Linked DNA regions of Homo sapiens: all the other regions are linked to region 4. Evidence: promoter capture Hi-C in 16 types of primary human blood cells and fetal thymus (Javierre and others, 2016). All regions are on one chromosome and are shown on one strand. Each heading gives the region's core, a stretch centred on a gene start or on the middle of the fragment in contact. The rest is flanking DNA. Distances are from core to core; before and after follow the strand shown.

Region 1 (2,705 bases), core at 196-2,695, 1.2 Mb before region 4:
AAAAAACCAAAAACTAGCCAGGTATAGTGGCATGAGCCTGTAGTCCCAGCTACTCAGGAGACTGAGGTAGGAGGGTCATTTGAGCCCAAAGGCTGAGGTTGCAGAGAACTGTGCCACTGCACTCCAGTCTGGGTGACAGAGTGAGACCCTGTGTCAGGGAAGAAAAAAAAATTGTTTACAACAGATAATCCAATATACCAAGAGTCTCTACGTAATTATTTTGAAAAGCTGCAGAACTAATTCTTGCTCATCCGTATTACTTCCAATTGTACTGTTAAGTCATCAATATCTCTAAACATAAGCTTCTGTTTGTTCACCTGTAGCATTTTTAATTCATAAGGTTTTTAAAAACCACAAATGGCCTCACTTTTAGTTATGTAACAGGAACAAGAAATCCACCAGCAACAACATTTTTAAAACTCAGATCTTTAGCGGCAGTCTTTAGAATTCACTCTAGATTTAAAAGTAATAAATTGTTAAAGCATGCACAAAGTTTAAGAGCGAATAAAAACCACAACTGACAAATACGTTGGTTAACATTCCAAACATGTATAACCAATTAACATGGCCTAGGGTTTTCTTTTTATTGGTATTCACTTCAGTAACTTGAATCCACAGATATAAGCAGTATATAACCAGAAAGTTACAAGTAAACACAAATTATACATGCAAATTTCTGTTCACAAAGGTCACATGTGCAGGTACATGAATTAGAAGCGTGCATCTAGGATTATGGCCAAACTGTTTTAAAAATGCAGAAATGTAAAATTACATCTTGAAAATATGAAGAGATGGTCTACACACTTCAAAAATCAAATGTTGCTTATACCAGAGATGTATGACAATCACGGGATTCAAGTGACAAGCAGTAAGATCTCAAAAATTAATACTGGTCAAAGATAACGGGAATATTTTTGCATTTCACTGAAAATACATTGACTACTAGAATACGAAATCTAGCAGGAACTCAGGGAAAAAAATTACAAAATCTAAAGCCAATTACTTAATATTTCTTATTACCTAAACAACAGCATGACATTAACAGAAAACTGCACCTGCATTTCAATTGCCAATCTCACGTTAATTAAGTTCTCCAAAAATGAAATGCAACCAAAACGGGTTCAAACTCCAAATGAAAGTCTGCAAGGCTCAGATTAAAACATGGAATGTTTCAGATGAAAGTAATAAAAACACTATTGGTTTTGTTCTTTATTGAATGGAATAAAATGTTGACATTTCTTTGAAACTTGGAACTACTAAATTTCATTTTTCCAAATGGTTCTACATTTTTTTCTTAGTGGTGCAAGTTGTCTTAAGTAGCTTAGGAAGTCAATCTCTACAAAGTACTTCTGTCTGTTGCCATTCTGATAAAACAAAAACTATTCATTAACTTAACCATATGTGTATTTTTTTTGCTATAACACTTAACACATGAACAGACATCTATTATTTCTCCACTAAAACAAAAGAGTACAATAGTTTTCTTCTAACTATCAGTATTGTATTTAAAAAAGGTTAACATTAAAAACAAAGAACCATTATTTTCTTTGAAATCATTAAATCTCCTTGCACATCTTAAGTTTCCTTCTTCTGTCTGCGTTCTTCTGCCAATTTATTCAGAAATTTCTATAAAGAAAGAGAATTACAGCCATTAAGTCACCTAAGAGAAATGCAGCAAAATGGATTAATTCCAAAATCAAATATCCTATATCCAAGTTTAGGGACTTAAACTATAATTTTGTCAATATTTTCAACAATTAGTTAATCCTCATTAGCACACAAAAACTTTCAGGACATTACAATAAGGCACGGGGAAAAAATGGTAAAAGGTATAAAATGGGTATTTCAAATGTTATAATTAACCCTAATTTTTAGAGATGAGAAAACAAAGACCACAGTCACACTGAACTGACACTATTCAAGAACTATGGGTTTAAATGACATGCACTTTTATTCTTTTTTTTTTGAGGGAGAGTTTTGCTCTGTTGCCCAGGCTGGAGTGCAGTGTCGTGATCTCGGCTAACTGCAACCTCCACCTCCCAGGTTCAAGTGATTCTCCTGCCTCAGCCTCCCAAGCAGCTGGGATTACAGGCACCCGCCACCAAGCCCAGTTAATTTTTTTGTACTTTTGGTAGAGACGGGGTTTTCACCGTGTTGGCCAGGCTGGTCTCAAACTCCTGATCTCAGGTGATCTGCCTGTCCCCGCCTCCCAAAGTGCTGGGATTACAGGCAAGAGCTATCACATCTGGCCTCAATGCACTACTCATTAAATCACCTGAACAAACATTTTCTTGCAAGGCCAGCAGTAAATATTTTAGACTCATTGGGCCATTCAGTCTTTGTTACAACTACTCAATCCTGCACTCAATTATAAACTAAAACAACTATAGATGACACTTAAATGATTATGGCTGTGGGTTCTAATAAAACCTTACAAAAACAGATGACTGAGCCACGAGTGTAGCTTGCTGACCCCTGCCATTAAACCTGTGACTGCTAGAGTTTCTAGACACGGGAGCTCCATTAAGACACTAATGAAAGTACAAAAGACATATTAAAAAATCTAACCTAAAATGTCCAAAGCTTCTTTCCATCTCATTGGAATTTCAACTTTATATAGTTAATGCAAAATAGTAAGAATTAAAAGCCATTATATCTTTTAAAGAAAAACAACAACAACAAAAAATCACCCCACAAACATCCAG
Region 2 (2,859 bases), core at 185-2,684, 1.1 Mb before region 4:
ATTCCCAACTCCATTCTCTAATTCCCCCAAATTCCTTTCCGACACCCGCCCCCCAACAACAACAACCAATCCTGTAAGTTTTGCTGATCTCTTGCACCTGGCACCATTGCCAGGTGAACCCCTGGGAACCAAGCCACTGCCCTTGGCATCTGCCAACATGTTTCATTGTCTATTTCCTCAGCTCTTTCATAATGAAAAAGGTATGCTTCTTGTGCACCCCAACTCTTGCAGACCTCTCCTAAGAAAGCCCAGAGCCCCAGTTTGATTCCAGCAAGAGACCCTAGGCTGTAGGGCCAAAGAGCCACTGGAGGGGAAGTGGCAAGCTCAAATCCTCCCCAGTTTTGATGCAGTTGGACATAGGCTCTGGTTGGGAAAAGGCTTACATAAATACAGTAATTTAAAAAGTCACATGACCAGTGCTGGGCTGGTAGGCAGGAGCTCTGCTTTGCAGTTAAATAGGAATGTGGCTGAAGACTGCTGCCATAATCAATGCCCACATCCGGCTGTCACAGCGTGTTCATAAAGGAAGGTTATGAGAGCTATAAAACCAGGCAGATTGGGTGGGTAATTGTCCTACCGAGCTCTGCTAAAGGAGAAATTGCATTGGCATCTCATATATTTCGCTTTCTTTCCTTCCAAACACACAAAGTGGAGAGGGCAGAGCTACCCTGAAGATTCATGAAAAGGAAAGATAGGGTGTGTGTGTGTGTGTGTGTGTGTGTGTGTATGTGTGTGTGTGAATGTGCATGTGTGCTTTCAGAGAAGAGACAAGAAGTAACTGAGGACAGGGAGCTATGCAGACCTTTGGGGAGAGAGGGACCAATAATCTGGTGATGACTGGATTCAGATTAGTCCAGGTAGAAGGCAGGATTTATGTGGAAGGCCAGCCATTATAAATAAGGCTGTGAGGTAAGCCATATTTTCATGTCCTGTTGAACAAGTGGTCAACTTTTTGGGCTATAGGTCTTTCAATGACCTTTGGAGAAAAACCTAGATGAAGATTTTGTTTCCAACTTAAAAATCCTTCATAGTCAACCTTTTTGACTTCCATCCTTTTAAATTCTGAATTAATTTTGATGGGTTGATTTATGTTTTTTTTACCTGTAATATCAACTATTTTTCTACTTTTTTGTTTCTTCTTGCAAAGACAAAATTATTGAGAATAATAACAAAAAATAAAAGGGAACATTTCTAGAAAAAAAGATGCAGCTAGATGGAAAGCAAAGGACTAGGGGAAGTCCATTAGCTCTGAGTTTGACCTCATAACTTAAAGCTGACCTCAAGTGACACCAGGTCCCCAAGCTTCTTCCCTGCCTTTCTCTTTATCCTCCATCTCTCCTCTCATTCCTGCTTCCCTCCTTGATGCTTTCTGCCTCTAAGACTGCTCTTTTTCTTTCTCCCTGAACAGGGAGAAAAACCACCAGTAGAGAAATATCTAGTCATTTGTTCAGTTAGTCAGTCACTCAGTCAATCAACATTTACGAAACATCTATCATGTGCCAGACTCTGTTCAGATGCTGCAGATAAAGTCAGAACAATAGAGATTCCTGCCTGCCTAAAGCTTACAGTCTAGAGGAGAAGAATGACAAGTACTATATGTATACTTGGTCACATGTCTGGGGGCAGCTAACATAGCCTAGGGGGTCAGGAAGAGTACTAGAGATAGCTGTATTCTCTCTGGCTGATCCTAAGGGCTTAGAGTAGAGGAGGGACCCCTCCTCCATCCCTGCACTCCTCTTGCTGCTATGTACTAGCTACCCAATTAGAGTGGGGCTCTTCAGTTGTCCTTGTTATTTCTCAAAAGCATAGTTGGATTGGCAAGGATGTGGAGAAATTGGAACCCTCATACACTGCTGGTGGGAATGTAAAATGGTGCAGCTGCTTTGGAAAACCGTCTGGCAGTTCCTCAAATGATTAAACACAGAGTTACTTTATGACTCAGCAATTCCAGTCCTAGGTATGTACCCAAGAGAAATTAAAGCCCGTCACACAAAAGCCTATACAGAAATGTTTACAGCAGCATTATTCATAATAGCCCTCCAAAACCAAACGTTCATTACTTGATGAATGGATAAACAAAATGTGGCATATCCACACAATGGACTATTACTTGGCCATAAAAGGGAATTAATCCTGTAATCCCAGCACTTTGAAGAGGCTAAGGCAAGAGGATTGCTTGAGCCCAGGAGTTCAAGACCAGCCTGGGCAACATAGAGATGGGACCCCATCTCTACAAAAAATAAAAAAATTAGGTGGGCATGGTGATACACAACTGTAGTCCCAGCTACTTTAGGGGGCTAAGGTGAGAGGATTGCTTAAGCCTGGGAGATTGAGGCTGCAGTGAGCTGTGATCATGCCATTGCACTCCAGCCTGAGTGACAGTGAAACTCTGTCTCAAAAAAAAAAAAAAAAAAAAAAGAGGCCAGGCGTGATGGCTCACACCTGTAATCCTAGCACTTTGGCAGGCTGAGGCAGGCGGATCACTTGAGGTCAGGAGTTTGAGACCAGCCTGGCCAACATGGTGAAACCCCATCTCTACTAAAAATACAAAATATTAGCTGGGTGTGGTGGCTTGTGCATGTAGTCCCAGCTACTTGGGAGGCTGAGGCAGGAGAACGGCTTGAACCCGGGAGGCGGAGATTGTAGCAAGCAGAGATGGAGCCACTGCACTTCAGCCTGGCAACAGAGCAAGACTCTGTCTCAAAAGAAAAAAAGAAAAAAATGAATCATGTACTGATTCATGCTATAACATAGATGAACCTTGAAAACATTAAGATAGGCAGGGTGCAGTGGCTCACGCCTGTAATCCCAGCACTTTGGGAGGCCGAGGCGGGTGGATCACAAGGTCCAGAGATCGAG
Region 3 (2,700 bases), core at 12-2,511, 1.1 Mb before region 4:
TTTGGAAAATGAGACCTATTATCACTATCAGAAAGAACCAAGTAAAATCACAAGTAAATGAAGCTTAGGTTTCAAGTACCTAATGTAAGATATAAGACCAAACATAATAGCTGAGACCTTTATACAGCAAAATCAATTTGAGGTGAAGATAGATGTGAATAAGAAAAATAAGTCATTTCCTATAGTTTTAAGGATTGCTGCCCAAATTTAAGTTATACAACTAATTGCCTTCTTACTGACCATCCTACATCAGGCAGTGTTTACTTCATATCTAGTCTTTTAAAGTAAGGAGAACTAACTCTGGTCAGTACAGGAATAGGAGCCCTCCCAAGAAAAAACCTAGGTACAGGAAATACAGGTGATTTAAAGAAGGGAACTCCCCAAATCAGCATCCATCAGTACTCATTTAATGCTCAGGGCTACAGCACATCTAGAGCACAAAACAGGTAAAAATGAAAATGAGATCTTGGTTACACAGTTTCCTGTAAACTTTTCACAAGAATAGCCCAAATCACCTGGTAAATTTATGTTCTGATTATGATCCCCCAAGACGTGTTTCTAGATGAAATTGTTTTCTTTCTTAAATCATTATTGTTGTACCTCAGAAACTGTCACATAAGAATTTCCAAATCTTTTATATCACGATTGTCATAAAATATTAGTTGAAAGATATACATAACATCTTCAGTGAAACAATTTTATAATCACAACTACATACAGAGGTAAATCTGAAGTTGTTTGGTACAGAATTCTATGAGGCATTGCTTAAATTTTCTATTTTTTGATCACCAATACACTCAGCACTGGTAGCTTAATATGTGAAACTTTAACAGTAAAACCAGACAATATCCAGTAGTTACAAGTCTATTACAGGATCAATTTCACCAATGATAGATTAAAGCAAGGATACAATGGACAAATACAGTGGCAAAGGAAGTATAAAAAAAGTTGCAGGCAAGAAAGATTTAGACTGGATTTTAAAAAATAGATATAATCAAGTTTTAAAAGACACAGAAATGCTATAAGAGGTGGCTGGAGTTACAGGAAGATGTTTTTGCACACCAAGAAAGATGAATTTGAGAAAATACACCAAAGAAACTATTAATAGTTCTAGACAAGATCCACTATGTAAACTACTTAAGCTTTAAGATTAATAAAGACGAGAATAAGTGGACTTCTTCAGATGAAAGTTTCTTTGATATGTCTTATAAATGCCAGACAGAATGGCGGCTGAGATGCTATGTAAATGGTGGTGGACCCTCTAAATTTTCACACATATTTTTACAAATCAAATCCTTTAGAGGGTTTTTCAAAATAAAAATGTTGAAGTATCAGGGTTATTAATTGCAGCTTTGACCTTCATGTTGTAGCCAAAGCTTTGCATTACTGAAAAGTCAGTCTTTTGAATTATTTTTTCCCTAAGAGAAATTATATAATGGTATTACAATTATGTTTAAAATTTTTAAAACGGCCATATTTTAAGGAAATGTGACTGTTAGACTACAGAGCTCTGAATTACATTTTTTGGTAGCTCATAGGAAAACAGTGGATCAACAAAAGGAAAAAGTTAAGAGAAGCAAAGGTAAAGGATAACCTTAAGACAAACAGAAAATGAATGTCAGAAAAACTCAGAAAAGAGTCAAGACAAACAATGTAAATCCCATGACAACGTGTAATTCCATAACCACCTTAGTAGTTTTAAGATACTCAGTTTCAACGTAAAATGCAGCTCCATCAAGGATATTAGGGTAAAATTAGTGAAAAGCAACTTAAGTTAGATTTTGGATTAAACCACAAATAAACCAAATTCTTAAAAATGGTTTTATTAGAACAAAGTTGGGAGAAACCAGATGTGGCAACATTGTTGAAAAAGCATTAATGAAAACAGTTCCTCTATCATGTCAATGCTGAACATAAGATGTACAAGCCACTTTTAAAGGCTCATTCACATGGGCCCCACTGCCTATTAGCAAAGGCAGCACAATATGGAGACACTTACTAAAGATTTACAAAAGATTAGCTCCTTTTACTGTATTGTTTTTTCCTGTAATTATAAAATTGCCTTTCTATAGGAAACTGCACTAGAGGTTAAAACAATTTTAAATATAGTAGCTTTGGGAGAACATTTATTATCAAAATCCAATTTACCTATTTAAAATCTCTATATACTAGTGTAAATGCCCATCAATGCAGAACCCTTCACTTCCAAAAAAGAAAGCACCTGCACCCCCCTAAAAACTATCAACATTACCCACAATTTCACTACACAAATGCCATTTACTACAATCTTGATAACCAAATTCTTTTTTTTTTTTTTTCAGATGGAGTTTCACTCTTGATGCCCAGGCTGGAATGCAATGGCACGATCTCAGCTCACTGCAACCTCTGCCTCCTAGGTTCAAGTGATTCTCCTGCCTCAGCCTCCCAAGTAGCTGAAATTACAGACACACACCACCACTTCCAGCTAATTTTGTATTTTTAGTAGAGACGGGGTTTCTCCATGTTGGTCAGGCTGGTCTCGACCTCAGGTGATCCCCCTGCCTCGTCCTCTCAAAGTGCTGGGATTATATAGGCATGAGCCACCACGCCTGGCCCGATAACCAAATTCTTAACAAATTAGCTTAAAAATTCATTTTTATAGGCAACTCAAAACAAACTGTAACTTAAAATTATTTTATGATACAATTTTAAGCTGTTTAA
Region 4 (2,928 bases), core at 1-2,500:
ACTTTCCGCCCCAGCCACTCCCCAGTTCCTTTACCTGCTGCTTGTCCTCTAGGGAGGTAGAGACGACAGAGCAGTCTGATAGCAGGTTCTTGCGTACCACAGACCCCAAATCTGCAGCTGTGGACTCAAACATGGGAGAAACTACGACATCGTCATCGGACAGCAAGCCCGCTGGCGGAGAAAGGATCCCTTGCGACATGACGGCAGGGGCAGCCTAGGTCTAAAAAGAGACCAAAAAGTGGGCAGGGAGAAGAACCTTTAGGGACAGAAGGGGCCGCGAATTTTAGGTAATAAGTCCCTTGCCCCAGGACACCGTGTCCCGCTTCCTACTTCTTTTCCCCTCCAATTATCGGCAAAGGGGAAGGGAATGAGAGAAGTTCACTTAATGAACAATTGAGAGAAGTTTGAGGCGGCATTTCTGAACGCGAACAGAAGTCCACAGACATCTGGCTCCAAAAGCAGAAGGCTACGCCTAAAGTAGGGCACCTCGCCCGCCGGTGCTGTGGAGGTGGTGTCAGGATCCCTCGGCTCCTTCTCTAACCTCACCCCAAGGACCACCGTGAGAACAGAGATGCAGCATTAAGAGAAAAACAGATGGCTGCAGCTCCGATTTCTTAAAGCCTATTCCGCGCGGGCAAGAGCTGGTAACCCGGGCTCCAGCACAGCCGCACACTCACCCGAAGACGTGCCACTTGCTCCTCCTGGGATACTGGCTTACTCACACCTAGTCGCCGAAGCTGGACTTTCGCAGCCGCAGAGCACAACTCCGCCCACGAGGTGCAGCTTTGTTACAGATACAATATTTTAAATTACGCGCTGCGTTCGTTCGGCCAATCAGATAGGGAAGCCTGCAGCTACCAATCCGCGTAAGGAAAGGGGGCGGGCCTGACTGGAATTCCAGTCGTTCGCTTCTGCTTGACCTCTGAGTTCTAATGTGGGTCCGGGTTACCAACTGTCGTGGATTCGCACTTATTTTGCCTGGGATTCTTCCAACTTAACCTTTTTCCTTGAACCTTAGACATTTCTTACCTAAGAGCCTAAAGGAAATCTTGAGGCTTCAGCAGCCAACTCCTGTCCTTCCTTAGCAACAATCTTAACAGGAGTGCACAGGGTAACTGGTTTAGGGTGCTTGCTTTGTCTTAAGGGGAAAAACGACATTTCCCAGGAGGCACCGCGAACCAACGCCGGTACACTATTTCCCAGAATTCCAGGGTTTCGGCCCTTCCAGACCGTCTCTCCTCAGGGTTGGAGACTTCGGGGCCAAGATGGCGACGGGAACGGGCAGTGAGTATCTGAGCAGGTTTTGCGTGAAAGGCCTTTGTAGATCCGAGGCTAGGCACCATATTTTTGTTACACGCTTAGGGAGTGGGAGAAGTGGGTTGCTTGAGAGCCCAGGGTTTTCAGAGACCTGCGCTCTACAGCATCGTGAAGACCAACGTTTGGGGGCCCAGAAATCTGGGGTCTTGTTTCTCAGGGAGAGAGCGGAGGTGTGAGAGAAGCAGCTTAGTGAATCCTAGTGTGTTAGGAACTCTGCGGGTTAACCGTAAAAGCACTCTAGAAACTTGGGCGTGCAGACGAAAAGATGTTATGAGCCAGACGGAGTAACCGGCACCTCAAAGAGCCATTCATTTTTTTGTCTGACGTTTGTGAGGCAGTGGAAGTGGGGTCTTTTAACCATGAGCTTTTCTTGCCACTCAGGAAATTGCATCTCGGGGATTTCAGCCATTTTTCTTTTTTTGGACTGAAAAGCTCTTTTACCCCCGACATTTGGAGTAGAGGATCTGAGAGAAGTAAACAAGTTTATGCTAAGAGGGAGGCGGGGTAGTAGGAGGGGCTGGCCGCTCGGGTTCCTGGGAAATAAGCCCTGAATAAGTTCAAACTGGAATAAAGTCCAGTATTCTTAAAACTGGGCTTTTAGGGAGAACTGCCTAATCTGACATTCCCTGTTTCTTAATAAAGCGGAGCTTCAAGCCATGGCGTTTTAAGAAATAAAATGTTAATAATTCACATGCAACGAATAGGTACCCCGGTCACTGGTGATATTTCACTTGGAGAGGTGAAAATCAAGATTTGGTTATAGTAGCTCACTTTGTCCTAACAAGTTGGGATGTTTTGTATTAGGCTTTTAGTCCTCTTTTTGGGGATTTTGGAGCTTAGCACTACAGTCTCAGTGGTTGTTTCCAAGGCTTTTTTTTTTTTCTCCCTTTCCCAGAACACAAGCTGCTAAGCACTGGCCCCACAGAGCCATGGTCCATCCGAGAGAAGCTATGTTTAGCATCTTCTGTCATGAGAAGTGGCGATCAAAATTGGTAAGGTATCTAGGATGTCAGCTTTTCTGGGTCTTAGAAATTGTTAGATACTCTTTCACATCGGTAGATTTCTATAGTTAATCATATTAAGCTGTAAGTAGACTTTCTTTTCTTTTTCTTCTTTTTTTGAGACTGAGTCTCCTTCTGTTGCCCAGGCTGGAGTGCAGTGGTGCGGACACGCCCAGCTAATTTTTGTATTTTTTAGTAGAGACAGAGTTTCGCCATGTTGGCCAGGCTGGTCTCGAACTCCTGACCTCAGGTGATCCCCCCACCTCGGCCTGCCAGAGTGCTGGGATTACAGGTGTGAGCCACTGCGCCTGGCCATGCCTGGCTAATTTTGTATTTTTAGTAGAGACGGGGTTTCACCATGTTGGCCACGATGGTCTCAATCTCCTGACCTCATGATCTGTCCGCCTCGGCCTCCCAAAGTGCTGGGATTACAGGCGTGAGCCACTGCCAGGCCTATTTTTTTTTTTTTTTTTTTGAGACAAGATTGCACTCTGTGGCCCAGGCTGGAGGGCAGTGGTGTGATCTTGGCTCACTGCAACCTCCATATCTCAGGCTCAAATGATCCTCCACCTCAGCCTCTTGAGTAGCTGGGACTACAGGTGCACACCAC

What was found. The method cuts DNA at HindIII sites, captures the fragments that hold promoters and counts their contacts. A CHiCAGO score of 5 or more calls a contact.
Region 1: a fragment that was not itself captured here is called in contact with the fragment with the promoter of BRD8 in region 4 in 1 of 17 cell types (monocytes); the score reaches 5.5 in monocytes.
Region 2: a fragment that was not itself captured here is called in contact with the fragment with the promoter of BRD8 in region 4 in 3 of 17 cell types (fetal thymus, non-activated CD4 T cells and total CD8 T cells); the score reaches 8.1 in fetal thymus.
Region 3: a fragment that was not itself captured here is called in contact with the fragment with the promoter of BRD8 in region 4 in 2 of 17 cell types (erythroblasts and fetal thymus); the score reaches 5.6 in erythroblasts.

What each region holds. Positions count from the first base shown.
Region 1 is chr5:139,328,266-139,330,970 of GRCh38, reverse strand. MATR3 (matrin 3) reads right to left here. Exons shown (of 15, transcript NM_018834.6): 15 at 1-1,626. The coding sequence ends at 1,576. Among named protein-coding and RNA genes, the nearest start is that of PAIP2, 12 kb to the left of the region's middle. The HindIII fragment of the contact is 2,281 bases long and covers 305-2,585 here.
Region 2 is chr5:139,270,473-139,273,331 of GRCh38, reverse strand. It overlaps LOC124901081 (a long non-coding RNA gene), which reads left to right. Exons shown (of 4, transcript XR_007058956.1): 4 at 1-265. Among named protein-coding and RNA genes, the nearest start is that of SNHG4, 2.2 kb to the left of the region's middle. The HindIII fragment of the contact is 259 bases long and covers 1,305-1,563 here.
Region 3 is chr5:139,304,119-139,306,818 of GRCh38, reverse strand. The region is part of intron 1 of MATR3 (matrin 3); the gene reads right to left. Among named protein-coding and RNA genes, the nearest start is that of MATR3, 12 kb to the right of the region's middle. The HindIII fragment of the contact is 234 bases long and covers 1,145-1,378 here.
Region 4 is chr5:138,176,952-138,179,879 of GRCh38, reverse strand. BRD8 (bromodomain containing 8) reads left to right here and starts at 1,250. Exons shown (of 27, transcript NM_139199.2): 1 at 1,250-1,284; 2 at 2,213-2,309. The coding sequence starts at 1,266. KIF20A (kinesin family member 20A) reads right to left here and starts at 768. Exons shown (of 19, transcript NM_005733.3): 1 at 678-768; 2 at 35-220. The coding sequence starts at 199. RefSeq lists enhancers at 939-1,108, 1,249-1,298, 1,006-1,300. The HindIII fragment of the contact is 9,650 bases long and covers 1-2,928 here.